6 separate regions of the Homo sapiens genome follow, and regions 1, 2, 3, 4 and 5 are each linked to region 6. Evidence: promoter capture Hi-C in 16 types of primary human blood cells and fetal thymus (Javierre and others, 2016). All regions are on one chromosome and are shown on one strand. The core of a region is centred on a gene start or on the middle of the fragment in contact, and the rest is flanking DNA. Distances in the headings are between cores, read along the strand shown.

The links. Contacts are between HindIII fragments. The CHiCAGO score rates a contact against its expected background, and 5 or more counts as called.
Region 1: a contact is called between a fragment that was not itself captured here and the fragment with the promoter of TMPO in region 6, in 1 of 17 cell types (naive CD4 T cells). The highest score is 6.7, in naive CD4 T cells.
Region 2: a fragment that was not itself captured here is called in contact with the fragment with the promoter of TMPO in region 6 in 8 of 17 cell types (non-activated CD4 T cells, activated CD4 T cells, total CD8 T cells and 5 more); the score reaches 12.2 in non-activated CD4 T cells.
Region 3: a contact is called between a fragment that was not itself captured here and the fragment with the promoter of TMPO in region 6, in 4 of 17 cell types (naive CD8 T cells, total CD4 T cells, non-activated CD4 T cells and 1 more). The highest score is 11.7, in naive CD8 T cells.
Region 4: a contact is called between a fragment that was not itself captured here and the fragment with the promoter of TMPO in region 6, in 1 of 17 cell types (M0 macrophages). The highest score is 6.3, in M0 macrophages.
Region 5: a contact is called between a fragment that was not itself captured here and the fragment with the promoter of TMPO in region 6, in 4 of 17 cell types (non-activated CD4 T cells, naive CD8 T cells, M0 macrophages and 1 more). The highest score is 7.4, in non-activated CD4 T cells.

The regions. Positions count from the first base shown.
Region 1 is chr12:96,479,960-96,484,027 of GRCh38, reverse strand. No RefSeq gene overlaps it. Among named protein-coding and RNA genes, the nearest start is that of CFAP54, 7.6 kb to the left of the region's middle. The HindIII fragment of the contact is 8,484 bases long and covers 1-4,068 here.
Region 2 is chr12:96,500,043-96,503,834 of GRCh38, reverse strand. CFAP54 (cilia and flagella associated protein 54) reads right to left here. Exons shown (of 68, transcript NM_001306084.2): 2 at 2,896-3,001. Among named protein-coding and RNA genes, the nearest start is that of CFAP54, 12 kb to the right of the region's middle. RefSeq lists an enhancer at 1,987-3,186. The HindIII fragment of the contact is 1,044 bases long and covers 1,890-2,933 here.
Region 3 is chr12:96,446,595-96,450,622 of GRCh38, reverse strand. No RefSeq gene overlaps it. Among named protein-coding and RNA genes, the nearest start is that of CFAP54, 41 kb to the left of the region's middle. The HindIII fragment of the contact is 5,525 bases long and covers 1-4,028 here.
Region 4 is chr12:100,564,963-100,568,807 of GRCh38, reverse strand. No RefSeq gene overlaps it. Among named protein-coding and RNA genes, the nearest start is that of GAS2L3, 6.8 kb to the left of the region's middle. The HindIII fragment of the contact is 1,939 bases long and covers 1,252-3,190 here.
Region 5 is chr12:96,429,712-96,433,519 of GRCh38, reverse strand. No RefSeq gene overlaps it. Among named protein-coding and RNA genes, the nearest start is that of CDK17, 31 kb to the right of the region's middle. The HindIII fragment of the contact is 3,020 bases long and covers 955-3,808 here.
Region 6 is chr12:98,513,684-98,517,446 of GRCh38, reverse strand. TMPO (thymopoietin) reads right to left here and starts at 1,857. Exons shown (of 9, transcript NM_001032283.3): 1 at 1,301-1,857. The coding sequence starts at 1,579. TMPO-AS1 (TMPO antisense RNA 1) reads left to right here and starts at 1,221. Exons shown (of 2, transcript NR_027157.1): 1 at 1,221-1,456; 2 at 1,550-3,763. RefSeq lists a silencer at 1,098-1,367 and enhancers at 1,708-1,897, 2,158-2,237. The HindIII fragment of the contact is 4,246 bases long and covers 1-3,763 here.

The DNA of each region.
Region 1 (4,068 bases), core at 343-2,842, 2.0 Mb after region 6:
CCCAGCACTTCCCTTCCAACCTTCCCTATCACCAGCACTTTGGGAGGCGGAGGCAGGCAGATCACTTGAGGCCAGAAATTCGAGAACAGCCTGACCAACATGGTGAAACCTAGTCTCTACTAAAAACACAAAATTAGCTGGGCGTGGTGGCAGGTGCCTGTAAGCCCAGCTGCTCAGGAGGCTGAGGCAGGAGAATCGCTTGAACTCAGGAGGCAGACTTTGCAGTGAGCCAAGATGGCACCATTGCACTCCAGCCTGGGCAACAGAGCAAAACTCTGTGTCATAAATAAATAAACGCCCAAATTCTGAGGCCAAAGAGCATGGTTTGAATCCTCACTTCTTCCAAGTTACTTAACCTCATTGTGCCCCATTTTCTTAATCCGTAAACCAGGTGCTGGGTTCTCAGGACATATGCAATGAATCCAGTATAACATCCCTACTTCCTTGAGCCTTCCGACCTTTTCTTCAATATGATATCAAGGAAGTTCTGTCATCTCCACTTCATTTGATGTGGAACATTATCAGATCAATGCTTCAAGAAGTCATCTCATTAAGTTATTAGGAATTCTGAATCATGGGTGAGTATTCCCATATTAATGAATTCTACCCTCGTCACTTTTGCATTCTGTGCCCCGGTCTAACATATTCAAGACTCACTCCTACACATGTTCTCTGCAGTTTCAGCTACTACTTATTAGCCAGATCCCACAATTCCTTTGCCATGTAAGCAATTTCTTCTTAGAGCAGAGCTTGTAATTTCCTGCTCAGGCTGTGCTGAAACCTGACTTTCCTTTCCAGCCAGAAGGCAATGAAGTGTATTGGGGGCACATCTTGAGGAAAACAAGTCTCACCATGAAAGGCACCTGCTTCAGATTAGGTCATTATATGTTCCCCCAGGCAAGCAGAGATTGTTTTTCTCTGGCAAATGGTTAGGGGCTATTTTTGCAAGTATAGGGGGCTCAGAGAAATTTAGAGGTTCAAAGTTCTTGGGCTTGTCTACCTAAATGTTTCCACTTCAGGTCTCTCGGCCTCCACCTTTTCTTGGACTTTCTGCTGTATAATCAGATCCTGGACCCGGTCTTTAGCAAAATCTACCCTGCAGCTGTCCTAAGCTGCAGTAGAGGCACTGTCTTTCAGAGCATGCCTTCAGTTGTGAATTAACTGCTCTAAGACAATCAGGTCCCTGTTGCCTTCAGATAGGTGACAATTCAACTCTAAAATCTAATCCTGAGTGTCCAATTTTTTTTCTTTTTTTTTTTTTTCTTTTTAGATGGAGTTTTGCTCTTGTTGCCCAGGCTGGAGTGCAATGGTGCTATTTCGGCTCACCACAACCTCTGCCTCCCCAGTTCAAGGGATTCTCCTGCCTCAGCCTCCCAAGTAGCTGGGATTACAGGCATGCACCACCACGGGGTTTCTCCATGTTGGTCAGGCTGGTCTCGAACTCCCTACCTCAGGTGATCTACCCGCCTCGGCCTCCCAAACTGCTGGGATTACAGGCGTGAGCTACCATGCCCAGCCGAGTGTCCACTTTTTACACCTCACTTTATTGTGTTAACCTGAGTTTCCTAAAAAACAAGAGTTTGAGGCAAAGGCTTAAGTGCTAGTGCTTCACTTAGTAGTGTAATTTCCGTGAAGCAAGAATGAAGAGAAAAGAAAGTGGGACAGGGACAGATGAAAAGAAGTACAATGCCGGCCTTCTTCACATCATGAAGAAACACAACGAGTTGCTCAGTCATGCGGGATGTGTCCCAACAGGCTATCTACATCTCTATATACTACATCTTAGAGGAGTTTGTAAGAGGAAAAGGTAGAGAGAAAATATACCTGCTGCCCTTCTCCTGGTCAAGATTCACCACTCTACTTCCAGGTTGGATCACCTTGCCCCTTCAGCAGCTACTGACGATGCCAAATCTCATACCTTGTGATATAGTGTTTCATCCCAGTTCAAAAGCAGTGAAAGGGCCAGGCACGGTGGCTCACACCTACAATCCCAACACTTTGGGAGGCCAAGGCGGGAAGATCACCCGAGACCAGGAGTTCAAAACCAGCCTGGCCAACATGTGAAACCCCATCTCTGCTAAAAATATAACAATTAGCCAGGAGTGGTGGCAGGTGCCTGTAATTCCAGCTACTCGGGAGGCTGAAGCAGGAGAATCACTTGAACCCAGGAGGTGGAGGTTGCAGTGAGCTGAGATCATGCCACTGCACTCCAGCCTGGGTGACAGAGCAAGACTCCATCTCAACAACAACAAAAACAACAACAACAACAACAAAAGCAGTGAAAGGAACTGGGCACAGTGGCACATGGCTATAGTCCCAGCTACTTAGGAGGCCAAGGTGGGAGGATCATTTGAACCCAAGAGTTCAAGTACAACCTTGGCAACATAGTGAGACCCCATCTCAATATTTTTTTTAAAGTGGTGAAAGGAGCCAAAAACGCCACATAGTGGCCTCAGGTGGTGGAACCAAGCAGGCCAGGATGGGGTTTCTCCAACCTGGAGGCAGTCATCAGAGCAGTTGCTGGAAAGCAGTAAGTGGTAGAGGGCCTAGAAAGTCAGTGAAGACAGAAAACCCAAGGCTTTGCATAAGGTGTGTCTAGTATACAAGTCCTCTTGGATGATAATGCCAGCAACACCCTAAGGAAAAGAGAGCAGCAAGATGGAAGGAGCCTGGATTCCTTCACACTGTGAAGCCCTGGTATGAGTCCTAGACCACTCACCCAACTTACTATGTGAGAGGAAAATAAACTTTCAGCGGACAGGCGCGGTGGCTCACGCCTGTAATCCCAACACTTTGGGAGGCTGAGGAGGGCGGATCATGAGGTCAGGAGATTGAGACCGTCTTGGCCAACATGGTAAAACCCCGTCTCTACTAAAATACAAAAAATTAGCCGGGCGTAGTCATGCGTGCCTGTAATCCCAGCTACTTAGGAGGCTGAGGCAGGAGAATCGCTTGAACCCGGGAGGCAGAGGTTGTAGTGAGCTGAGATGGCACCACTGCACTCCAGCTTGACGACAGAGCAAGACTCCATCTCGAAAAATAAAATAAAATAAACAAACATAAGTAAATAAATAAATAAACTTTCACCTTGTTTCAGGTACTGGGATTGGAGGTTTTCGTAGGAGGTGCCAACCCTTTACTACAACTATTGTACCCTATCACCTAGAAGTTTTATTTCTTGGGCCAGGTGCAGTGGTTCACACCTGTAATCTCAGCACTTTGGGAGGTGAAGGCGGGTGGATCACCTGAGGTCAGGAGTTCGACACCAGCCTGGCCAACATGGTGAAACTCCGTCTCTACTAAAAATACAAAATTAGCCAGGCGTGGCAGCGGGCACCTGTAATCCCATCTACTTGGGAGGCTGAGACAGGAGAATCACTTGAACCAGGGAGGTGGAGGTTGGAATGAGCCGACATCACACCACTGCACTCCAATCGGGGCAACAAGAGCAAAACTCCATCCCAAAAAAAAAAAAAAGAAATTTTATTTCTTGATTTCTTGAAATCAGCTTTAGAAATCATACATATGCATAAAGATGCATATACAGATATATACAGAACATACAGCAGATGTTTATTGCTAACCTTAAATGCTTACAATAGTAAAGCATTAAAAACAATCACTGGGTGCGGTGGCTCACACCTGTAATCCCAGCACTTTGGGAGGCCAAGGCAGGCAGATCACCTGAGGTCAGGAGTTCGAGACCAGCCTGACCAACATGGAGAAACCCCATCTCTACTAAAAATACAAAATTAGCTGGGTGTGGTGGTGCATGCCCGTAATCCCAGCCATTCGGGAGGCTGAGGCAGGAGAATTGTTTGAACCCAGGAGGCGGAGGTTGCAATGAGCCGAGATCGCGCCATTGTACTCCAGCCTGGGCAACAAGAGTGAAACTCTGTCTCAAAAACAAAAACAAAAAAACACAATATAAATGTACATCAATAGAGTAATGCATAGATAAACTATAGTTTAGCTATAGTATTGAATACTACTCAGCACCCAAAGGGAATGTAGTGGGTTTTAATGTCTTAACATAAACATATTTTTAAGACTTTTTTAAATCAAAAA
Region 2 (3,792 bases), core at 1,162-3,661, 2.0 Mb after region 6:
CATTATTAGGTAATATTCATATTATTCCTAATAGTATCAAGGTTGATTATTACAATTATACCATTACTACTGGCTCCATTTTCCAAAAACATAGTATGTGAGAGACACTGCACTATACAATGTATGTGCATTATTTCATCTAATTCTCCTCACAATGAGCCTATGTGAGATGGGACCATCATGACCACAAGGATGAGAATATTTACTATGGCACTGTGCATGGTAATACCTACAAATACTCAAAACCCAGGTTCCAAAATTCAGCATCATCAGATCATGGTAACCCACATACCTAGAGAGGTGGATGAGTAGTCTTGCTTCTCTGATACCTCATAGGCTCGAAAAAGAAAAGAAACGAAGAGCGAGCGAGCGAGAGAGAAACAAAGGAAGGAAGGAAAGAAGGAAGGGAGGGAGGGAGGGAGGGAGAGAGGAAGGGAGGAAGGGAAAGGAAGGAAGGAGGGAAGGGAGAGAGGGAGGGAGGAAGGCAGGAAGGAAGGAAGGGAAAGAAGGGGAAGGGAAAGGAAAGGAAAAGAAAAGGGAAGAGAAGGGGAAAGGAAAGGAAGGGGGAAGAAAGGAAGTGAAAGAGAGAGAGAGAAAGAAAGGAAGGAAAAAAAAGGAAAGGAAAGGAAGAAAGAGAAAGAAAGGGAGGGAAGGAGGAAGGAAAAAATAAAGGGAGGGAGGGAAAGAAAGAAAGAGGAGAGAGAGAAAGCGAGAAAGAAGGAAGGAAGGAGAGAGAGAGAAAGAAAGAAAGAGAAAGAAAGAAAGAGAGAGAGAGAAAGGAAGGGAGGGAGAGAGGAAGGAAAGGAAGGGAGAGGGAGGGAGAGAGGAAGGAAGAGAGGAAGAAAGAGGGAACCAAAGAAGAGAAAATAAAAGAAAAAACTGCAGAGTGAGGTGAGCTACTTGCCTCTCTTTCATCTGTCAACACTCTAAAGCTGCATCAGGACAAATAAAAAGCATCTGAGCAGTGGGATTTTTATTCATTCAAATTCATGCTTATGTTCCCATTACAGAATCAGATGCCCCATTTCTGTAACCCACAGGGCTCAGTTACCTGGAGGGTTTCAGGGCAGGGGACATAAGCAGTGCTTTCAAAATGAGTCACTTGCAACCCTTCCTCAGCTCCCTCCCCCACAACTTCATCCCCAGGAAAAGCAACTGCCCAAGGTTGAACTGGCTGTCCAGTTACCTAGCCCCTTGGGAGGCATCTTCAGTCAAACACTGTTTTGTTTAAATTTCTATTAAAGATTTGTTTTTGCTCACTAATCCTGAATCTTTTCTGCTCTAACTTGAGTCATATAATAAATTCAAATCTAGGTTTAAAAAAAATTTTCCACAAGATGATCTTTACTACAACTAAAATAAAAATAGAGCCTAGAAACCAAAGTAACAAGTTCATTTTCAGAATTATAAATACCTTTTTTTTTTTTTTTTTTTTTTTAGGGACAGTGTTTCGCCATGTTACCCAGGCTTGTCTCAAACTCCTGGGCTCAAGCAAGCAATCTGCCCTCCTCAGCCTACCAAAGTTCTGGGATTACAGGTGTGAGCCACCATGCCCAGCCTGGCCAACATTCCCTTCAGTGAAAAGTAGATAAAACTTTTTCTTTGTTCCTTTAATTAAATATTAAAATATCCTATCTAGGCCTTTCTATCTAAAACATTCTGAATCCTTAGCTACCAGCCATCTTTAACTTGCTTTATCAGCTTCTAACATACACCTCTCTCCTCCCTCCACTAATATCCACTCCACCCACACAGACATTTCTCAAACAACCCTACACTGTGCTTTTTATTTGTATTACCAGCTTCTTATACTGAAAAGTGTAAGGATGGAAAGGGGGCTATCTTGTAATTCTTGTCAAAACTCTTATTCCACTTACATGAATAAAGCTTCCAAGTTGAATCTCACCCAGGTTTCTTTTCTGTAGCTTACCAAGCCCTGTATTTTCAAGTTTCTAAGACCCATGGTCCATTTATGTGGAACTATGGTTATTCTCTAGTTTTGGCAGAAGAAAATAGATCTTAGTTCTTCATTATGAAGTTCCACCACTCATATCCTCTATTTGGTAAATTTGTCTCCCAGACCAAGAGGATTAAAGTCCAGAAAACAGAGAGGGGAAAAATGAAGTTGAGAAACTGAAGATTGAGAAAACACTGAACACTGCCCACGGCTGGCCTAAGATCCCATTGTCTGACGTTCACATAACTTAGAATAATCTGGACCTAGGCCAGAGTTTAAGGGGGAAACTCACATGATCATTAATGGAAAACCCAGCCATGCTGTGGTCTCAGCAAACCAAGTCCACCGGTCCACAGCATTCCAAGCCCTAGACATTCAGGTAGAACTAAAAGAAGGACACAAACTCATTCTGGAATACAATACTGAGCAAGAAACAGGGTATGTATGGAATGACTGTTATAATTACATACAGCAAAACATTAAGAAAGAGTTGAAAGAGTTTAATAAACAGGGCACTGAAGCAAGCAACAGAGCTGCAAGGCCAAGAGCCCTGAAGGTTGACCACTGGGCAAGGCCAGCCATATGAAAAACAACAGGAAGTGGTGTCTGGGCTCCTTTGTATAAGGTAGGAACACGATGATTCAGCATTTCCTGTTGTGTGCCTACCACACCCTCTGTTAACCCGGCCACCCTCCTGCCCATCCACAGCCAGCTGCCTGGCTGTTCAGGAATGTCTCACCTCTGGGAAATCTCAACTACAAAATTAAAAAGCAACACTTTTTTGGTTACTGTGCCTTATTAAAATTTTTATGTACTCATTTATTTTTTTCTAAGAGAAAAATCAAAACATGTAAAATAGGAAGGGTATCAGACTAAATACTGTAATAATAATTAGCCAAATGAACTTCTTTTTGGCTCTTTCCTGCAGAGGCACTTACTTTCATTTGACAAAGGCTATCTCCAACCTTCAGAAGCTTTTCGTTGTAATAGTCTGCTGGCAGCCTGGGGGCGTATTTAGTCCAGATATTAAACAAAGAAGTGGCACTGTAAAAATCATAAAATAAAACGACATTGTCAAAGTCTGCAGGAAACCCCAATTAATTTGCAAGCAATCCTTTAAAACTTACCTTATGCTAAAGCCTTTCCAATGTGCCTTATTGTTAATGTCCAATTATTAATAATAAATGTAATTACAGTTAAAATTATTGCTTCCTATGTACCAAGCATTGATTGCAGCCCTTTACATATTTTTTTTAGATACTTTACTTCATAGAGCAATTTTAAGTTCACAACAGAATTGAGCAGAAGATTCTGAGATTTCCCATATATACCCTGTGCCCCCAAACATGCACAGCCCTCCCCATTATCAACATCTCCACTAGAATGGTACCTTTGTTGTGATGAACCTACATTGACACATCATTATCACCCAAAGTCCATAGTTTAGGGTTCACTGTTGGTGTCATCCATTCCATGAGTTTGGACAAATGTATATAATGTCTATCCACTGTGAAAATATCAGAGAGTAGATTCACTATCCTAAAAATCCTCCGTGCTCCACTTATTCATCCCTCCTTTCCCGCTTAATCTCTGTTAACCACTGATATTTTTACTGTCTCCATAGTCATGCCTTTTCCAAAATGTCATAGTTGGAATCATATAGTAGGAAGCCTTTTCAGATTGGCTTCTTTCACTTAGCAATATGCATCTAAGTTTCCTCCATGTCTTTTCATGGCTTGATAGCTCATTTCTTTTTAGCACTGAATAATATCCCATTGTCTGGATGCATTACAGTTTATTTATCCACGCACATGCTGAATGACATCTTGGTTGCT
Region 3 (4,028 bases), core at 566-3,065, 2.1 Mb after region 6:
GTCACTTTTGTCATTTCTGATTGTGCTTATTTTAATCTTCTCTCTCTCTCTCCTTTTTTTCTTTTTTTTGTTAATCCAGCTAGCAGTCTATCGTCTTGTATTGTTGTTGTTGTTGTTGTTTTATTTTTTTTTTTTGAGACGGAGTCTCGCTCTGTCACCCAGGCTGGAGTGAAGTGGCGCGATCTCGGCTCACTGCAAGCTCTGCCTCCGGGGTTCACGCCATTCTCCTGTCTCAGCCTCCTGAGTAGCTGGGACGACAGGTGCCTGCCACCACGCCCAGCTAATTTTTTTTTGTATTGTTAGTAGAGACGGGGTTTCACCGTGTTAGCCAGGATGGTCTCGATCTCCTGACTTCATGATCCACCCGCCTCAGCCTCCCAAAGTGCTGGGATTACAGGCGTGAGCCACCGCACCTGGCCTGTTGTTGTTGTTTTTGAGACGGAGTCTCACTGTCGCCCAGGCTGGAGTGCAGTGGCATGATCTTGGCTCATTGCAACCTCCGCCTCCCGGATTCAAGCAATTCTCCTTGCCTCAGTCTCCTGAGTAGCTGGGATTACAGGCGCCCACTACCACACACAGGTAATTTTTTGTATTTTTTAGTAGAGACGGGGTTTCACCATGTTGACCAGGCTGATCTTGACCTCCTGACCTTAGGTGATCGTCCACCTCAGCCTCCCAAAGTGCTGGGATTATAGGCGTGAGCCACCGTGCCCAGCCTCAATCTTGTTTATCCTTTCAAGTAACAAACTTTGTGTTTCATTGATCCATTGTATGGTTTTCTTGGTCCAAGTTTGTTTAGTTCTGCTCTAATTATAGTTTTTTTTTTCCCTTTTGCTAGCTTTAGGTTTAGTTTGTTCTTGTTTTTCTAGTTCTATTATGTGTTCTATAAGGTTGTTAATTTGAGACCTATCTTCTGGATGTCAAAGCCGATATTCTTTAGTATTGTACTACACCATTTACCACCATTAACATTATTAACTTTCATGGACTAGTCCCATGCATAGGTAAATGAAATGGTTGACTACATTGTGCAATTAAAAGCTACTGAAGGCTGGTGCAGTGGCTTATGCCTGTAATCCCAGCACTTTGGGAAGCCAAGGCAGGTGGATCACCTGAGGTCAGAAGTTTGAAACCAGCCTGGCCAACACGGTGAAACCCTGTCTCTACTAAAAATACAAAAAATTATCTGGGTGTGGTGGTAGGCACCTGTAATCCCAGCTACTTGGGAGGCTGAGGCAGGAGAATTGCTTGAACCTGGGTGGTGGAGGTTGCAGTGAGCCAATATCCTGCCACTGCCCTCCAACTTCAGTGACAGAGTGAGACTCTATCTCAAAAAAAGAAAGAAAAAAGAAAAAAAGAAGCTACTGAAGGATTTACCTGTCCCCAAACACTGTCTCCACATTCTGCAGTAGTAATAACAGTTATGTCACTTTTTGAGTTATTTTTTCCATAATATTAGTAAAGTTTGCCCCCTATGGGAGATAATACATTAATCCATAGATTAACAAATTAAACTGCAATTTAATAACTATCTATTAAAACTAGATTCCCAGCAGAAGTAGAATTAAAAAACAAAAACAAAACAAAAACCTAGATTCTCTGCAGAAAAATAGGATTAAAAAGAACAAAAACGGCCGGGCACAGTGACTCATGCCTGTAATCCCAGCACTTTGGGAGGCCAAGGTGGGCAGATCACCTGAGGTCAGGAGTTCGAGACCAGCCTGACCAATATAGGGAAACCCCGTCTCTACTAAAAATACAAAAATTAGCCAGGCATGGTGGCGGTCACCTGTAATCCCAGCTACTCGGGAGGCTGAGGCAGGAGAATGGCTTGAACCTGGGAGGCAGAGCTTGCAGTGAGCCGAGATCGCGCCACTGCACTCCAGCCTGGGTGACAGAGCGAGACTCTGACTCAAAAAAAACAAAACAAAACAAAAAACACTTTCCTTGATCTCCCAGTAAGTGGATAGTCAAGCTAGGAGTTGAGTCTATGTATTTAATCATTGTATTATACTTTTCTCTCCTATTTCTCACTCTCGTTTCAGTCACTCCTCATATGACATGCGATTCTCCATCCTTTTCCTGTGACTCACAGTCCAGGTGGTCACTGCTGCTTTTAAACAGAGTCACTGTAGTAGACTGAATTCATTGGGAAGCAGGCACTGAGACAGAGTTTATAGCTTGCAGGATGTTTATTAAGGAGCACCCTTGGCGTCAACACATAAGGAACAGGGCAGGGGAGGTAGGAGCAAAGCAAACCCAAGACATTTTCATAATTTTTATAGGCCTATTAAAGTATATGTTATAAAATATTCATAGCTTACTCTGAAAAGGTAAATATTTTGAATTGACTGGATATATAAGATCAGCTGAAATTTTGCCTACATTAAATTAATCTTGGCCAGGAGCAGTGGCTCATGCCTGTAATCCCAGCACTTTGGGAGGCCAAGGTGGGCAGATCACTTGAGGTCGGGAGTTTGAGACCAGCCTGGCCAACATGGCAAAAACCCGTCTCTACTAAAACTACAAAAATTAGCAGGGCGTGGTGGCAGGCACCTGTAGTCCCAGCTACTCAGGAGGCTGAGGCAGGAGAATCGCTTGAACCCGGGGGGCAGAGGCTGCAGTGAGCCAAGATTGCACCATTGCACTCCAGCCTGGGTGACAGAGCAGGACTCCATCTCAAAAATAAAAATAATAATTAATCTTATGCCCTATTTTTGTCCTCAAATTTGATCAAGGCAAATTCACCCAGAACCCACTATTAAAATGGGACATAATTGTGTTGAGGAGTGATGATCATGGAAACCATTTTACTGATTCAGGCTAATTAAGTAAAAAAAAAAGGGGGGGGGGCTATTTTAACTTCCTCAGATATGTGATATATCTTTGAAAATACAAGGTAAATTCTTCTTGTAAATGTTACAAAAAGGGCTACAGATCCCTTAATAAAGATTATTAGACCTTTATCCATGTACAAGTTCTTTTGTTTGTTAGTTTAATAATGCTACTGCTGGTTGATCAACCAAGCTGTTTTAGGAGCTCCACAGTATATTAGCAAGTCTGTAAAGTAATAGATAATTAGTCCTTAACCAAAAAAAAAAAAAAAAAAAAAAAAAGGAGAATGTCACAGCCCCCACACATCTGTTACTTGTCAGATGTCTATTACAGTGGCTGCTCCAAATGCCATTAAAGTGAAACCTTGAATTCTTGCCTATTTATTCTCACAGTCTGTTTATCAACTCTTCGTATTCTAAAGCTCCATACACTTGTTTTCTTGTTTTTTATTACACTATTAATTTCAGCAATTACAATGTATGGCTTAGCTAGAGGAGTTTCTACAGTATAAATATTAAAAATAGGCCGGACGCGGTGGCCCATACCTGTAATCCTAGCACTTTGGGAGGCCGAGGTGGGAGGATCATTTGAGGCCAGGCATTCAAGATTAGCCTGGTCAACATGGTGAAACCCCTTCTCTACTAAAAATACAAAAATTAGCCGGGCATAGTGGTACGTGCCTCTAATCCCAGCTACTCAGGAGGCTGAGGCAGGAGAATTGCTTGAACCCGGGAGGCAGCGGTTGCAGTGAGCTGAGATCACGCCACTGCACTCCAGCCTGGGCAACACAGTGAGACACTGTCTCAAAAAAAAATACATAAAAATAAAAATCACACAAATGTATGAAAGGAAGATTGATGGAATATTATTTTAATAACAGCTATGAAGTACAGAAGATACAGAAATTTACTAGGGAAAATTAAAAGTAAGTAAATTAGAAGAAACAGGAAGTAGAAGGTGATAAAGAAGAATCATCCATCTGCTAAATTAGTAACTCTCATTCAATGTGGATTTCAATACAGTATTGTTACTCCACATTACTAAGTTCACTGAGAAGATATTTTAAGTGGCAACTTCCACTGTTAAGTTTAATTACTTTTACAAAGTAAGCCAGTCAGATTCCTCAGATGCCAGACTCTTAGTTATATTTTTCAGCAGGCCATAGCATCTCTAATACCCAGCAAAATCCAGGT
Region 4 (3,845 bases), core at 972-3,471, 2.1 Mb before region 6:
AACATTCTCTCCTAGAGCCTTTGGGGGGAGTTTGGTCTGCTGACACCTTGATTTTGGACTTCTAGCCTCCAGAAACGTGAAATAATATAAATGTCTATTGTTTTCAGCTGCCAAATTTGTGGTACTTTGTTAGAGTACCCCTAAGAAACTAATACAATCTATATCTGGAGAGAGATGTAAAAATCTAACAGCCTAGCAAGAATGATTACATTGAGCTACACTCCCTACTCCCCCAGTTCATCTATAAGACGTCTTCACAGATATTAGCATTGTAGCCACGCCAGGCTCTTACAGAGCACAGGTTATTTCTAAATGGCTTACTGTTCAAGTATGATCAAGTTTCTATCACATTTAGTTATATTTGATAGCAAAAAAAAAAAAAATCCTCGAACTCACTTAAGAAAAAAAGGGCAGGTATTGGCTTATGTAATTAAAATCTCAGGATAGAACTCTCTAACTTTAGGCACAGCTTGATCTAAGATTTCAGATATTGTCACCAAAATCCAGTCTCTATTGGCTCTGATTTTCATGTTGACTTTATTCTCAGGTTCCTCCTGGTTATATGATGGTTTCCAGAAGTTCTAGTTCTTCATTCTCTTAGGTTTGAGTCTAACCAAAAAAAAGTGAGTCATTCTATATAGTTCTCAAGTCAGAAAACACAAACCACTATAGGTGCATCAAAAAGCAGGAACTTAACACAGACTTGGTTTTGCAAGAGAAGGTAAACAGGAGCAGGTAAGACAACTCAGAGATTAGCAACAGTAGGAAGCCACTGCAATTCTAGGGCTTAGGGTTCAAAAGAGGAGTTTAGAAACCAGGGCCATCAGCACTGGGGCAGGAGGGAGTTTCCCAGTGGGACTGGGAGCCATGTAGGAGATGCAATCTTTACCAGAGATACAATCTGAGGCAGAGAGAGTGAGGGAGAAATACCCTGGCTTTTCCCTTCTTCTCATCCTCCAGTCTCCCATCAATACTTTCCATTGATTGAAACTGGCCAAAGCCAGTTAACAGAGAAACCTATAAAATGCAGCCTGTCAGGGGTTAGCCCTCCCTCCCTAGATGAACAGAGAAGGGAAGGAAGGGAACAGATCTGAACACAAATAGGATATATTAGCTAGACTGTTGCTGTGATAATGCTGTATCACAAACAACTCCTAACTTTCAGTGGCTTACAGTAATAAACATTGATTTTTCTTGTTTGTCGATCTGCATGTTAGCTCATGGTGGACAGGAGGGATGCTGCTTCAAGCTTAAGTTGGGTTTAGGTGTACTCCTTCTGTCTCTCATTCTGAGACTTGCAACTATCCAGGGCATTCCCTTCTCATGGCAGATAGCAGAAGTGCAAGAGCAGCAGCAGAAACATGTGATGTCTCTTAAGGCCATAGCTTGGAACTGACACTCTCACTTCCACCCACGTGCTATTGCCAAAAGCAAGCCACAAGGACAAGCTCAACATCAGTGGGTGGGGAAGTCTGTTCTGCCTACTCCTGTGAGAGGCACTGCAAATTCACGAGTCAAATAACCTGGCCATATAATTCTACTACAGGGAGAGAGTGAAGAATTTGGAACAATTAATACACACACACACACAGAGGCATGTAACTGACACTGCCTTCCTCCTAAAAATTCTTCCAGCAGTATATCTTATTTTCTTTAAATAAGTCACCTGCCCAATTCTAAACCAATGACTGTGACCTAAGATATGTGATATTCTGATTAGCTATGCCTGAATCACACTTCCAACTCTGGAGCTGGGGGTGGAATCAACTCCACTTAAAACATATGGACTAAGAGATGGGAAGGGGGTGGTTCCCCTGAGGAAATCAGAGTACTCTTCCAGAAGTAAAGGCAGTGGATTCTGAGTGTCCAAAAAATAAGTCAGCTAACACCCAAATGTGATATGTGATAGTGTACTGAATTTATTATTTCACATAAGGGAAAAAATAATAAATTGTAATTTTGTAAAAATCTGGGGAAAAGTAAAATTCTGCTGCTATAGGATCAATGAGTGAAATCAGTTTCTCATTCTGAACAACAAAGAAAGAAAACAAAATTTCAAAACAGTTGCTCATATCCAGTATTTGGATTCACTAATAAAATGACTGTCCACAATGTTGTTATGAACTAGAAAACCACCACCATGAGAATTATGTTGAAGCTAGATGCTAGATCAGGTCAAGAGAGAGTACAGTGTAGGAGTCATATTTTCTTGGGATATGCTATGGTCTGAATATTTGTGTCCCCCCAGAATTCATATGTTGAAATCCTAACCCTTAAATTGATAGTATTAGGAGGTAGGGCCTTTGAGAGGTGATTAGGCCATGAAGGTGAAGCCTCGTGACTGGGATTAGTGCCCTTATAAAAGTGACCCAAGAGAGCTAGCAGGCACATCTAGAAGATGCCATCTAGGAACCAGGAAGTCCTCACCAGACGTTGAATCTGCCAGTGCCTTCATCTTGGACTTCCCAGAACTGTAAGGAATCAATTCCTGTTGTTTATAAGCTACCCAGTTTATGGTCTATTTTTACAGCAGCCGGAATGAACTAAGACAGGATGGGAGAGAGCAGGGTTTCTAAACCTCAGCACTGTTAACATTTTGGGCCAGATAATTGCTGAGGGAGGCTATTCTGTGCATTGTAGGAAGTTTAGCATCATCACTAGCTCCTACCCCCTAGAGGCCAGTAGCACCTCTATCTCCAAGTTATGAAAACCAAAAGTGTCTCCAGACATTGCCAAATGTCCCCCTGAGACACAAAATCACCCCTACTTGAGACCTGGGGTGGAAAGGAAAAGGAAGAAAACAAGCAAACCCATTTCTTTTCCCCTGTCTCTATACTTTCTTTCTCATTTGGTGTAAGAGAAGATAGACCTCTGGGGAATGCATTTTATTTGGAAGCCTAGAATATAGGTAGGGCAGGAGACAAAACCGGTAGGAGGTCTCAATAGCCAACTGCTCTCCCAAGGAGTTCTGGGTCTCTGCTGAAGTCAATGGGAAATCAAGTAGCACAGGGAACATGTAACCAGATTTGCATTTTAGAAAAAAAACTCACTCTACTAGTGTGGAAAATGACCCATAAAAGTGCATATCAGAGCAAGGGAAATACTTCTGTTTCATAGCACTTGTAATTTGTATTTTATTTTTACCCAGAGTTGCTCCTATTACCCCTATCACTCAGGAATTCCCAAAGCTTTTAGAAGCTGTGTCAGAAACCAGGAACAAAAACACAATATGTATTTCTTATAGTATCACAATTAGTTTTCCATGTGATGAGCATTATTGTTTGCTATTACAAGGTCTTAACCACTTGAATAAATGCAGATCTAGAGGATTAAGCTTCTTGCTCTGTCTCCAGTGCCCCACCAGTTCCAGGCTCATTTCTCACTGCTGTCTGCGCAGACGGCATGAGATCTGGAGACACCAAACTGAAATTTACTCCTTTCTTCAATGTCCTTTCCTCACCAACCCTCTCCCTGGTGGGCCTGCTACTTCCCACTTACTCTTCATTAATAAGCTAAATCCCCTTATGCAATAAATGCTGATCTCTGCATTTTACAATGGTGAAATTGAGATTTAGAAAGAGACTGTGCATCCTCCCTCCCTCCCCAGATTACGTATCGTCTTTTAACATCTGTACAACTCACCACCTTCCTTCTGTTGCTCCTGCCACCCCTTTCACCTTGAACCCCTTCCCTCCTACCTGGACCCACTGAATTTGGGGCTATCCCTTGAAGCCCAGCAGAAGTACCATCTCCTGTATGAAACTTTCCCAAGTTCCAGGGTAAACCCACAGCAAGTTCCGCTGCAGCCTTTATAACTCCCTCCAGGCAGTTACTGGGTTTTTTTC
Region 5 (3,808 bases), core at 1,215-3,714, 2.1 Mb after region 6:
AGTGCTGGGATTACAGGCGTGAGCCACAGTGCCCGGCCTTTTTTTTTTTTTTTTTTTTTTTTTTTTTAAAGACAAAGTCTTGCTCTGTCGCCCAGTCTGGAGTGCAGTGGCACAATCTTGGCTCACTGCAACTTTCGCCTCATGGGTTCAAGCAATTCTGCTTCAGCCTCCCAAGTAGCTGGGATTACAGGCGCCTGCCACCACAACCAGCTAATTTATGTATTTTTTTTTAGTAGAGATGGGGTTTCACCATGTTGGCTAGGCTGGTCTCAAACTCCTGACCTCAAGTGATCCGCCCACCTAGGCCTCCCAAAGTTCTGGGATTACAGGTGTGAGCCACCATGCCCAGCCACTTACCTCAATTCCCCAGATGCCTGAAAGGGTGAGGCAGCATATCTATGGAGGCCACTCCTGCTTTTGGAACCTGACAAGATCTAAATGAAACCTGAAAACCTAAGTGGCCTCATCCTGGGAGATACACACTGTGATGGACTGAAACACATTGTGTTAATTATTAATGCATTATTACTAGTAATAATTGTATTAATAACTATTCATTAACTATTAATGATTGTGTATATTATTTGATGTAAGTGATCCATGGGTGAAAACCAGGGAGTGGCCTGTGGTGTTATGATATATATATAGGTTTTTGTCCACGGTTCCTGGCTCAGAATTCCCACAGCCCTTGTTATAGTCTTTGTTTTTTTTTTTTTTTTTTTTTGAGATGGAGTTTCACTCTTGTTGCCCAGGCTGGAGTGCAGTGGCAAGATCTCAGCTCACTGCAACTGTTACCAGACCAAACTGAGGGCCAGGCTTCTATTTTTCATGGCCCAATAACGAGATGCAGATGAACTGGGGAGGAAGAGAACTTTTACTTCTGTAACTGGTTACAGGGAGAAGGTCTGGAAATTATCGCCAGACCAACTCCAAATTACAAAGTTTTCCAAAGCTTATATACTTTCTAAGCTATATTCATCTAAAGACATAAGTGATGAACTTCTTTTAATCTGTAACTAGGGTCTGAGTCCTGTAGATCTTTTTCTGAAGCCTTAGTAAGTTTACTTAGTCTAAATGGGTCTAGGTGCTGGGGTGATGACCTTTATCTCTCTTTTTTCTTTGAGACAGAGTTTCACTCTTGTCACCCGGGCTGGAGTGCAGTGGCGCAATCTCGGCTCACTGCAACCTCCACCTCCTGGATTCAAGTGATTCTCCTGCCTCAGCCTCCCAAGTAGCTGGGATTACAGGCATGCGCCACCATGCCCGGCTAATTTTTGTATTTTTTTTTTTCCGAGATGGAGTCTTGCCCTGTAGCCCAGGCTGGAATGCAGTGGCACAATCTCGGCTGACTGCAACACTCCCTGTCCTGGGTTCAAGCAATTCTCCTGCCTCAACCTCCTGAGTAGCTGGAATTACAGGCACGCACCACCACGTCCGGCTAATTTTTGTATTCTTAGTAGAGATGGGGTTCCACCATGTTGGCCAGGATGGTCTGGATCTCCTGACCTTGTGATCTGCCTGCCTTGGCCTCCCAAAGTGTTGGGATTACAGGCGTGAGCCACTGTGCCCAGCCAATTGCCCTTATTTGTATCCTGCTAAATCATAAAGGTTTGGGGAGTTCCTTTAGGCCCCAATAAACTTGTTTGTGGAGGCCTGGGGAGTTTCTTCAGACCCCCAATAAAACTTGTTTAATCCTAAAAGGGTCCTGTTAAGAATTGCTTCATTATTTTGTCATGCTTCAAGGCCCAGGAAAAGCTAGCCAAAACTCTTGGTGGGCTTTTGTTACATTCCAGCCTTTGTATAAGGATCCTGGCTCTTTCAGCTTTTAATATTTAACTTAACTACTTAGTCAGTGCTGAAACAGTTGTTACAGAGGTCTGCATCTGTGAGACCAGGCCTACCACACAACCTCTGCCTCCTGGGTTCAAGCGATTCTCCTGCCTCAGCCTCCCGAGTAGCTGGGACTACAGGCATGTGCCACCATACCTGGCTAATTTTGTATTTTTAGTAGAGACAGGGGTTCACCATGTTGGCCAGGCGGATCTCAAACTCTGACCTCAGGTGATCCCCAGTCCTGGGCCTCCCAAAGTGCTGGGATTACAGACAGGAGCCACCGAGCCTAGCCATTACAATCTTTTGGTGTAATGTGGGGTGTGTTAGGCCTCGGGGGCAGGCCTCTGACCTCCTGCCTTCTTCTCCCCTGCTTCAAGGCAGGACTCTAATTCTTCCTGCCCCACCCCCACCTTTCTGACTGTGGGTCTTAGGACTCTTCCCAGAGAGGATCCTGCCCATACCCTGGGGAAAGGAATGCTGACGTCATAAAGGTTCCATAAAAACCCAAAAGGAGGGCCAGGCGTGGTTGCTCATGCCTGTAATCCCAGCACTCTGGTAGGCCAAGGCGGACGGATCACTTGAGGTCAGGAGTTTGAGAGCAGCCTGGCCAACATGGTGAAACCCCATCTCCACTAAAAATACAAAAAATTAGCCAGGCATGGTGGCAGGTGCCTGTAACTCCAGCTACTCTGGAGGCTGAGGCAGGAGAATTGCTTGAACCCTGGAGGCGAAGGTTGCGATGAGTTGAGATTGTACCACTGCACTCCAGTCTGGGCGACAAGAGTGAAACTGTGTCCAAAAACAAAAACAAAAGGACAGAGTTCAGTGAGCTTCCAGATAGCTGAACACGTGGAGGGGTCCTGGTTGGTGGTATACTCATGAAGGGTATGGAAGTTCCATGCACCTTCCTCTATATCTCACCCCATGTGCCTCTGCATCTGCATCCTAAGTCTCTTACTCTGCAGGCAACAAATTAGTTGCCTATTCAATGTTCACTCTATTTCTCTTTCCTTCTTTTTTTTGTGAGACAGGGTCTCACTCTATTGCCCAGGCTAGAGTGCACTGATGCAGTCATAGCTCATTGCAGCCTCAAACTCCTGGGTTCAAGTGACCCTCCTCCCTCAGCCTCCCAAGTAGCTAGGACTACAGGTGCCTGCCACCATGCTCAGCTAATTTTTATTTATTTATTTATTTATTTATTTAGATCTCACTATGTTGCCCAGGCTGGTCTCGAACTCCTGGGCTCAAGCAATCTTTCCATGTTAGCCTCCCAAAGTGCTGAGATTAAGCATGAGCCACTGCACCCAGCATCTCTTTGCTGAACGCTGATTTTATTCAGTATCCCAACCTCTTCCACATCTACTGCTGAGAGCTCCATTCCAATTGTTCTTATTAGTATGTTTGGCAGTGACTGGTTTAGCTATTGGCATGTGGTGCATTCTGGCCAATTAAATGTAAAAAGAAATCTTTCAGGCTGCTTCTGAAAAAGGTTTCCTCCTTTCAAGAGAGATAAACAGAGAGCACCTCTTCCTCTAAAATTGTCCTGTCCAAAGGTTATACATGGAACTGCTGTAGTCTTCTCATAACTAAGGGGGCATTCCTTAAGGACAGAGAAAACAAAACACAGAGTGAAAAAGGCAAAGTTGGGGGAAAAAAAACCTCACCTTTATTGTTGGCCCATCAACATATTTAATCTTGGACATTCCTACCTTTGGACTTTTTGAATATAGTATTATTTATGCCCATTCTGAGTTCAGTTTTCTGTTATTTACAGCAGAAAATATCCTAATGGACACTTTGGCTTCTCTCTCTCCGGTGACTCCCGCCTGTCGCCATTGCAAGGACTTCCTCTCCTTTTAACATCTGTAGCCTTCTTTGAGTCCCAGGATCTCTAAACCTACTTTTTCTGAACATCAGAGAATAACTCCAAAATTCTATTAATTTACTATGGGGAACAATTCCCTTTTGTTTCCAT
Region 6 (3,763 bases), core at 608-3,107:
TCTCTTACAAGGCATTTTATGTTACACCAATTACTAGTTTTAGCTTCATCCTATTACGATTTGAAGCCTGGTAACTCGGCAGGCATAAGCAAACCCACAAAAAGCATATTAAAATCCACAGGTAAAAAAGCAAACTATTCTGAAACAAAACATGCTTTGCTGGAGCCGATTTGAGATTTAACCAGGATCAGACATTCCAAATTGCAATACTGATGCACCAGAATGTCATGAAATAAATTTTTCCTGAATCCTAAGTCTTTCGTTTCCTCAAGCAAAATTTACCAATATGTGGGGAAAACGCAATCCAAACTGCAATTTTCAAATATTTGTTTGCAGGGCCGGGCCCGGTGGCTCACGCCTGTTATCCCAGCACTTTGTGAGGCCGAGGCGGGAGGACCACCTGAGGTCAGGAGTTCGAGACCAGCCTGACCAACTTGGAGAAACCCCGTCTCTACTAAAAAATACACAAATCAGCCGGGCGTGGCGGCGCATGCCTGTAATCCCAGCTACTCGGGAGGCTGAGGCAGGAGAATCGCTTGAACCCGGGAGGTGGAGGTTGCGGTGAGCCGAGATCTCGCCATTGCACTCCAGCCTGGGCAACAAGTGCGACACTCCATCTAAAAAAATAAATAAATAAAAACTAAAAAATTATAATAGGCGCCTAAAAATATAGTTTAAAATGCTCCTTTTAATTCGGCATGAACCTGTTCCGCCAAAAGATGGCCTGTTGCTGGGAAAAATTAAAACAAACTAGAAAACATAAACGGTTCAAAAAGCCCTCCACACGCAAAAGTATAAAAAGGCGGGAATTTCCTCATTTCAAATTTTGGTTAGAAATTAGAGTGTCATCAGTTGCCCTCCAGGGAGCGCTCTGAGACTCTGCTGCGAGTCATTTCAGTTAATAAAGCGGGAAAACGCTCGAACTTAACCTATAGCATTTTGGGGCCACCCCTCCAGAGCTTTCGAAAGGGCACGGAAGTCCCCGTCTAAACGCCCGCTGCAGGCGGCTGGTGGTCCAGGGAAGCGGCGTCGACTGCGTGCAAAACAACCGCCGCCAACGCAACTCCACACCTCCCAGACCCACACGTCAAAGAACGCGAACCCCGCGGCCCCAACTTCTGGCCTCTCCGCTCCGGCGCCTGCAGCCCCGCGGGGAAGGGGCGACGCGAGGGGGCGCAGGGACAGCCCCGCACCTGGGAGGCCCGAGGGGGCGCCCGGGAGGGAGGGGCTGCAAACGGCGGCGAGCGCGCGCGGCAACCGCCAAACGCCCGCCTTTGTAGCCCCGGCCCCGCGTCCTTACCCTGCCGACGGCTGCTCGGCTCCGGCCCGCGGCGGCGGCCCCAGAGCCGAGGACCGGGGTGGGCTCGCGCTCTTCGTCACTGGAGAAGTCCGGGGGCCCCTTGCTGTTGGTGCCGGCGGGGAGCGGCGGCCGGTTGCGAGCCGTGAGGTGCTGCAGGTAGAGCTGGACGTACACGTCTTTGCGCTGCTCCCCGGCCGGCAGCGTCACATTGTTGGCGACCAACTCACTCTTCAACTTGTCTTTTGTCAGGACCGAGGGGTCTTCCAGGAACTCCGGCATCTCGGGGATCTGCGAAGCCCCCTCCCCACAGCCTTTGCCGCCGCCGCTCACGCCGGCGCGCTTGCTCCTGGCCGGGGACCGCGCTGCCGCCTCCGAGCCTCACGGCTCCTGCCCGGGAAGAGCGCTGCGGAGCGGAACAAAAACTCGCGGACACAAAGCCAAGCCAGACCCGGACACAAAAGACCCCAGAGCCGAACTACGAACCAACTGCGGCCAAGCTGGAAGCTCGCACCAACCCCAGCCCACACACTACAGGCAGGAGGCGAGCAGCCTGCTTCGCCCACGCCCCAAGAACGCGCGCCGCCATTGGCGGGCGACGGGAGGAAGCGCGGCGGTGATTGGCGAGACGGCTCGCGCGGGTTCCATTAGCCGCCGCGCTGAGCGAGAGGAGGTAGAAACGCAGTTTAAAAGGCGCTGGGGCGGGAGCCGAGGCTCCCGGCCCGCTTCTGTTTTCGTTTTCTCCACCCTTCCCCTTAGACGCCGATAAGGGACAGGTCGTACTGCTTTTGTGCGCCGTTTCCTCTCCCTCCCCCAGCTTGAGAAGCAGCTTTCGTCTCTGGGGTCGATCGCCTACGAACGCGCCGAATTCCACGCCAGTGTGAGGACCCTTGGCTGGGCCTTTCTTCCTCCCGGGACACTGAAGCTCCAAGAGTAGCCGCAGCCTTGCCTTCCCCAAACGCTAGCCCTGAAGGGGAAGAAAAGAAGCGAGGCTTGTCTGCAGGCACTCATATTCCTTGATTTGATTTACTTTGGGAGGGGGAGGGCGGGGAGTTACCCCTCTCCTCGCGAACGCTTCTTTTGTTCCAGAAACCCAGGGGAAGCCAGACCTCTACAATCGGGCACTTAAATTACCCTTGAATTTGTGACAAAAGTGTACTATACCATTCACTTCTTAGTGTCATAGTTGGGGCATGTCTAAATTGTTTAATTTGAACAGTGCGTTCAGACGCAAGACAAATTCGCGCTTGCATTTTTGTTGAAACCGTCTCTGGCTTTGGATCCCACCACCCGCAAGAATCCTAAACCTAACGTTTGATAACAAAACGAAGGAGAACCCTTGGGAACCCCCTCAATGGTCAATTTAAAATAACAGATGGTGCATAATCCTAAAGGAAGACTAGTGACCTATAATTAGGCCTAGAACCCTAATCAAACCCGTATTACCGATCCAAATTAAAACCTGGTAGAATCTAATACATTGACTGCAATTAAAATGTTTGCCTGGAAATTAGTATCACTGATGACAAATATTTGTATTTCTGATGAATATGTATGTTTAAAGATGCTTTCTTTCTAGAAAGGAAAGGAGACCTTGGATGTAGGGTGTGTTAATCATTTCCCCAGAATCTGAGCTCCAAACTATGTTTTAGAAACTGGTTAAATTTTTTTTAAATGTTTGCCTGCTTTCTACATTGCTAGGTTAGAATACATTTAAAACAAACGCCTTCACTAAAAATGTTTCCTATGATTTAAGCGACTTACTTTTATTCAAATTGCGATATTATTTCTTTTAGTGATAATTATTTTCCTAGAGGTAACTAATTCCTTTATAAAAATCTCAGTATTCACATACATTTAAGCAATGGTATTAAGCTCAATAATGCAAATTAAAAATCAGGTTTTAATTAGCAAGTTGTTAGGTAGGTTTTTATGATCCCTTGTAAAAGTTGCTTGGTTTTTTGTCCTCACAGCTTCCCTGGACACATAGGCAAATGTTTTTATCTTCAGAAGGGGAACTGAGCTGAGAGGCAAAGGACCATGACTTTGCAATGACTGGTAACCCAGTACGTATAATGCAAGAACTGCATTCTAGATACGCCTGAAATTAATGTTTCCTGGGCAAAAACATTTTCATTATCTTTTTTTTAATCCCTGGACATTAGCTACAGGTGGTTACTTGCAGATTTACTGCTGTAGAGCTCCAAAATTGAGATTACACTTTTCAGATTCTGCGTACCCTAAGGCTAAGAGGTTGGGCTATTGAGTTTGGGTGGTCTCTTTGGTCCTGATTGCTACTTCCAAACCATTTCTGCTCTTTTCTGCTTCAAAAATATTTGAAGTTCATATCTTCTGGCTAAATCACTTTCTACTCTCCTTCCTGCCATCATCCACGAGCCTCCTGGTCACTTTCCAGAAATTATAGAGCTGCTTGCCGTAGGTTTTCCTCACCATCCCTCTTGTCTA